Regions from separate parts of the Homo sapiens genome. Here region 2 is linked to region 1. Evidence: promoter capture Hi-C in 16 types of primary human blood cells and fetal thymus (Javierre and others, 2016). All regions are on one chromosome and are shown on one strand. Each heading gives the region's core, a stretch centred on a gene start or on the middle of the fragment in contact. The rest is flanking DNA. Distances are from core to core; before and after follow the strand shown.

The links. The method cuts DNA at HindIII sites, captures the fragments that hold promoters and counts their contacts. A CHiCAGO score of 5 or more calls a contact.
Region 2: a contact is called between the fragment with the promoter of SPRED1 here and a fragment that was not itself captured in region 1, in 1 of 17 cell types (total B cells). The highest score is 5.1, in total B cells.

The regions. Positions count from the first base shown.
Region 1 is chr15:36,582,307-36,585,600 of GRCh38, forward strand. All of the region lies in intron 1 of CDIN1 (CDAN1 interacting nuclease 1), which reads left to right. Among named protein-coding and RNA genes, the nearest start is that of CDIN1, 4.3 kb to the left of the region's middle. The HindIII fragment of the contact is 3,124 bases long and covers 1-2,856 here.
Region 2 is chr15:38,251,023-38,254,474 of GRCh38, forward strand. SPRED1 (sprouty related EVH1 domain containing 1) reads left to right here and starts at 1,814. Exons shown (of 7, transcript NM_152594.3): 1 at 1,814-2,195. The coding sequence starts at 2,164. RefSeq lists silencers at 1,164-1,463, 1,474-1,523, 1,624-1,723, 1,904-1,963, 1,974-2,023 and 2 more. The HindIII fragment of the contact is 4,356 bases long and covers 1-2,286 here.

The DNA.
Region 1 (3,294 bases), core at 45-2,544:
ACTTTGATATGAAGTATATGTGCTTTGTATTTACTCTAGTCATACAGAATGTTAAAAGGTTGTGTATTCAAGGGTTGAGATTTAATGCAATTAATAAGAGAATATTCTTTAGTGAAAGTCTTGTTTTGTTTTGTTTTTCCTGCACGTGTGTGGCAGTGAATACAGTGACTACTAGTACAGTTATGATGCCTATGATTTGTGCCTTGTTTTATGCTCAGGAGCTGGCAGTTTTACTCACCATTGTTTTTGTACCATAAGTCCAAATGTGAATACAGCGCAAAAGGAAAATACTATCTTGCTATTTTTATAAAAATAGTCGTGTTGACCCTGTAGACCTGTGAGAGGGTCTCAGGGACTCCAAGTCCACAGCCACACTTAGACAATCACTAGCTAATTCAAATCAAAGCATAATTATGTTTTCAAGGATTTTGATGTATACTGACAAATTTAAAAAAATTGTACTAGTCCTTTTACTAGCAGAGCGTGAGAGTCTCTGTCTCTGCAACTTTTCCAGTATTGAGAAGAGTCATTATTTAATCTTTAATATGTTCGATCAAGAATGACATCTTGTAGTTAGCATTTTAAAAATTATTATAGGTTGTACCTTTTTCCAAATTTTTTTGACCACTTAATTTTCCTTTGAATTACCTGTTTGGTATCCTTTGCCTAATTTTCTGTTGGCATGTCTGTTGTTATTGTTTATTGATTTATTACTTATTGATCTGCATATGTTCAGGATGCTGGTCCTATATATGTCATATTTGTTGCATAAATTTTCTCAGTTGTTTGATTTTAAATATTGTTCTGCTTTTGATATGGTTAACTTTTAAATGTATGCTTTTTTTTTCTGACATTTTTGCCTTTATACTTAGGAAGTTCTTTTCTGTCCTAATATATGAAAGAAAAAAATATTTCACCTAAATTTTCTTTTAGATTCTTTATGGCTTTGTTTTTTATTCTTAATTTTTAAATCTTTCTGGCTGAAATTTATTTTAGTAAATGCTGAGAGGTGAAGATGTAGCTTAATTTTTTCTCCAGCTTAATTTTTCCTCTTACTGTGACTTCTGGGGTAGCCTCACTTCTTCATGGCTTGTTTTGACTGAAGTTACAAAATTATGTTTTTTCAAGTCACTGTGTTTTACGTGGTCTCAGAATCCTTCACTTTAAAATGAAGGAGTAGGACTTTGTGATCTGTAATATCTTACAACTCCAAAATTCACCCTCATTCTATTTTCGTTTCTACAGTTTTACCATACAGTAAGTCATCATTTAATGTCTTCGGTAGGGCTTTGGAGACTGCAACTTTAAGTGAAACAATGTATAATGAGAGCAATTTTACCATATGCTAATTGTTATAAACAAGAATTAAGTTCCTATAGCATATTTCTGGTCATAATAACATCACCAAACTTCTAAATAAAGACCCAAGGCTGGGCACTGTGGCTCAAGCCTGTAATCCCGGCACTTTGGGAGGCTGAGGCGGGCAGATCACGAGGTCAGGAGATCGAGACCATCCTGGCTAACACAGTGAAACCCCGTCTCTACTAAAAATACAGAAAATTAGCTGGGCACGGTGGCGGGCGCCTGTAGTCCCAGCTACTCAGGAGACTGAGGCAGGAGAATGGCATGAACCTGGGAGGCAGAGCTTGCAGTGAGCTGAGATGGCGCCACTGCACTCCAGCCTGGGTGACAGAGCAACACTCCGTCTCAAAAAAACCATAAAAAATAAAATAAAGACCCAAAACACATCTAATATTAAACATTGAAATTAATGTGAGCCTAAACAAGTAAGATAATTATTTACCCAATTTTTGGTGAATCAGTGAGTGATGGTGGTCATAGTGGTGGTGGATTAAATCTAAGAGTATGTGTTTGCAAAGTGAAATTTGTGAGAAGCACCTCTTACCACCATGTATTCAAAAGCAAACAATAGCCTGTTCAACAGAGCGAGACCCTGTCTCTTCAAAAAAATTTAAAAATTAGCCAGGTGTGGTGGTACATGCTTGTAGTTCCAGCAACTCAGGATGCTAAGGTGAGAAGATTGCTTAAGCCTGGGAGTTTGAGGCTGCAGTGAGTTAGGAACGTGCCACTGCAGTCCAGCCTGAGCCACAACAGTTAGACTCTGTCTCTAAAAACAAAAAACAAAAAGCAAACAATAACAAATGTGGTGAGCTTGCTGAGCACTTGTGTACTGCATCTTTATTGTCATGCGTTTGTATGATTATCATAGATTTATGAATTTTTATTTTACAGTAATTTGTATTCATTCATTTATTCACTTATTCATTCATTTATTTACCAACCCGCTTATTCCAGTTTAGGATTCTGAGTGGCCTCTGGCAGCTCAGGCTGCAAGGTATGAAGCCATCCCAGCACGGGACACGCTCACACACACTCCCATACTCACTCACACTGGGGCTATTTAGACATGCCAGTTCTGCAGACACGTACATCATTGAGATGTGGAAGGAAACCAGAGTACTGGGAGAAAGTTCACGCAGACGTCAGGAGAACATGCAAACTCCACACAGACAGTGGCCCCAGCCAGGAAACAATTTTTAAAAATACTCATCAACTTTATAACAAAATAATGTTGAACAAAATAACGTTATTTGAAGACTTTCTGTAATGGGCCCTTTGGCACCTGAAACATAGGACATACTACATTTGAAGTACTTGCTGAGGACATATTTATTGATTGACATTTTTTAATCTTTCTTGTGGACATTCTTAGAAGCCCCTGGTCCAATCAGCTGTTACTTATAAGGTTATATTTTACATTATAATTTCCTGCCCAAACACTACATATATATTTGATTATTTGTTACTTTTGGGAGAGTTTTTGGGATAATTTTAAGCTTGCAGAAAAGTTGCAGAAATATTACAGAGAATTCTCATATACCCTTCACCCAGCTTCTCTTAATGTTAACATTACCATGGTACGATTGTCAAAATCAGTAAGTTAATTTTAATGCAATATCATTAATCTACAGACACATTTTTTGAACTTTGCTAGTTTTTTCACTGATGTCCCTTTTCTAGGATCACACGTTGGATTTAATTGTAATGTCTTAAGTCATTTCCAATCTGTGACAGTTTCTTACTATTTCTTTGTCTTTTATGATTTTGACACTTTTGAAGAGTACTGGTCAATTTTATAGAATGTCCTTTCCTTTGTGTTTGATGTTTATTTTCTCATGGTTAGATTGAGGGTAAACACTTTTGGCAAGAGTACCCTGGAAGTGATGGTGTGGCCTACTTAGTGCATTACATCAGGGTCTGTGACTTCATATG
Region 2 (3,452 bases), core at 564-3,063, 1.7 Mb after region 1:
AGCACTTGGGATTCAGTCCCCTAAGGTGGTTCATGTACAGGCTGGTTTTCTAAGTGGAGAACAGATAATAGAATTTGCAGAGCCAGGAGCTCTGACTCCTGTGGCTGGGCTGACCTTAGGCTCCAGCCCGCAACCCCAGTAGGTTTCTGTGCAAAAATCTTTTGAGATGAATGCATACTTTGTCTTCTAACAATGCATTCGTGACAGCTGTCTATCCAATCGGTCCGCCTCCGTTCAGAGCAGTTCGTGCCACAGAAGCATCTCCTGCGCTATAGTTATGCAACCTCACTCGCAGCGGGAGTTATTTCCTCCGTTCTGGCTGCGCCAGATTCATGTAACACGCCTACCCTGGGCTTCAATGGAAGTCGTTCTCCATTAACAATCACTCCAGCTTTCCGAGATGAATGCCCTGATAGCATACCCCTTGCGCAGTAAGAATCCAGGCAGCGAGGCGAGGTGTTAAAACACACATACATTCTCATATTCTCTCTCTCTCTCTCTCACACACACACACACACACACACACACACACATACACTTCGTGCATGCAGCTAGGGGACTGCAGCAGTGCAACCAGGGGGACAGCAGGAGGAGCTCTCTTTGCAGTCCCTGCTTCTAACCCCCACTAACTAAAGATGAACTCATGCCAGTTCCATTCTTTGCTCTGCAAAGAAAACACACACACACACACACACACACACACACACACACACACACACACGGCAGAAGAGAGTAGCCTCCAGATTTCCCCTCTGAGCACACTGTCTTTCTAGCCTCTTCGTTCAAGCAACCCGGATATTCCAAGCAGAGTAACGGGGAGTAACGCGCCACAACAATGCAACCTCCCTAGCAGCTCCCCTCGCAGCTCCCACCCCCGCCCCCTTTCGCGGCGTGCCAAGAGTTTGGAGCGCGCGCACGCACACCGAGCACGGTGCAGGGAGGATATCCCTCCGCCTCCCTCCCCCTTTCTCCGCTAAGTGGCTCGACAACGATTTGGGAAATGAAGGGAGGAGGGAACTACTTTCCTGAAACTTGCTATGCTGCACATGACTTCGAGTTGCAGTGATTCGCCCGGAGGCCGCGGCTTTTAGTCCTACCCACACACCCTCACAGCCTGGGCACCCCGCTCGGCAGCCCCACCCCGCGCCCGCTCTGGCCTCCGGGGAAAGCGGGCGGCCGGGAGAAGTCGCGAGGGACTACTTCGCCTCCTTCTCTCGCGGGCGCCCCCGGTTCGGGCAGCGGCTGCGGCGGCGGAAGGAGCGGGCGGCGTGAGCGCTTCCGCCGCCCCCCTCGCGGCTCCCCTCTCTCGGGCGTGAGGAGCTGGCCCGCTGAGCTGCTGGTGGGCACTGGCTGGCGGGGAACCTGCAGCCGCTCTTGTCCTCTCCCGCCGCTTCTCGGGATCCTGCCCCCCGGACCCGGGCCCGCCCGCTCTTCTCCGGCCGGGTGGGAACGATCGGTTTGCCTGCCCCTCGCCTCACACGCTCCCCGCCGCCCCCTCCACCCCCCTGAGGAGGAGTCCCGGCTGGAGCGTGTCTGGAGGAATCCGCCGCCGCGGGGCCCCTAGCCCTGCTCTGCCGGCGCCTGAGGACCGACCCAGACGCCGCCGGGGGTTGAGGGGCAGCCGGCGGCGAGGCGGGAGATGGTGGGGTGGGCTCCGGCAGGACCGCGCCGCCGCTGCCCGGAGCCTGGGCTCGGCACCCCCCCGCCGGCCCCCACCGAGCGGAGCTCTGCTTCCTCCTCGCCGCATCCCTGAGGGAAGCGCCGCCTCTGCTCCCGGGTTCTCCGCCCGCCGACTCCTTCCTGGCCGGACCCCGCTGCGCTCCACCCCAGTGGCTGGAGGAGCAGCTCTCCAGTCAGCCTTTGCAGCCCCTCTCTTTTTCCCTTTCCACCGGGCCTCCTCGGATCCCTTGGCTGGGCACTGAGGCGGGGGAAGAGGCTGGGGTCGCCACGGCGGAGGTTGCTGCCGCCACCCCCCTGCGGGGGTGGCCGGGGTTCCCGGCTGGGGGGGTACCGTTCTGGGTGAGGCATCCACCATGGTGAGGCCCCTGTGCCGCTGCCCCCGCGCCCCCCCGGCCGCCGCTGCCTCCTGCCCCTCGGTGCTGCTGTTGCTCCCCCGCCTGCTGTTGCTCCTCCATCTCCAGATCGGATCACGGTGAGGGAAAGATGAGCGAGGAGACGGCGACTTCTGACAACGAGTAAGCGCCTCATTGATCTCGATTGCTAATCCCCCTCCCCCTATCCGCCCTCGGCTCTCCCCCAGACCCATCCGAAACTTGGGTGCCGGAAAGCTTGCGACCCTGGAGAGTTCGGTGCATCTTCTGGAGATAGCTGATTTCTTTAGCCATTTTTAGTGGCAGCACCCCTCCCCATCCTCCCACATTTAGCTGCTTTCTTTTGGGGTAGGGGATTAAGTGTTGGGAGAGGATGGCAATTGTACGTCTATGAGAGGGAATAATGTGGATGGATGGAAGTGGAGTAGAAACTACCCCTTTGCCTGTGAGACCCCTGTCCCGTCCTTTTTCACTCACATACCAGTCACCATACCTTCAGTATCCATCCTACTTCCTTTATAGCTGTTTCACTTGGAAACTAATGTGTGGGAGCACCTCCTGCAGCAAACTGCTCTTGAATCTTAATTCGATGAGTCAGTGACTCTTAAATACCGATTAAGCCTTCACCCTCTCCCCCCTCCCCCTTTTAAACTTATGACCTGTAAGATTCTTGTAAAAAATAGGGTTAGGGAAACATTTTTAGAATTTAATAGGATTAAGGACACCTGGAGTGTGGGCGATGTTGAGCTAGAGTTTACCTTTGTGAATATTGGACGTGTCTTCAGGAACGGAGAAGAATTTTGAATGCTAATTTTTACCTTTCAGCTATGTGAAAACACATGATTTACGTTGATGTAACCGAATTTACATTGCTGAATATGTTGGTGATTTCATTAACTTTTAGAGCATTCCGGTTTAAGTTTTAGCTTATTTGGGCTTTCTCCTTGCTTTCCAAACGAAATACTTCGTCTTTTAAATGTTTTGCTTTAACGTGACAGCTGCGTGGAGAAATAATGGTTGGCAACACTTTTCTATTGAGAAGGGATTTAATTCCAAGCAGAATATTAGCATCCGTTTTCTTGTAATTAAGTTCAACTTTTGTTTATCTTCGGAGGGTTGGAAAGAGTTAAGTGAGTTAGGACTTAGTCATTTGGATGCATTCCTTTAAATACAGTGCATTACTAAAGTCAGACCTTTTTGAAATAACTTTTTAAAGTCTGTACCGAGTCCTGTTTAACGTAAAATAGCTAGAGAAAGGCCAAACAACATTTCCTCCTCCCTTACTCCCTCCCCACCCCAAAACACACGCTTCTGCTGAGCGGGTGTAGAAGGAGGTACATTGCTGCAGTGTCAGTGCAGTGTAGAAGCAGAAGTGGCAGCCATGTTCTGTCTCTTTTTGTG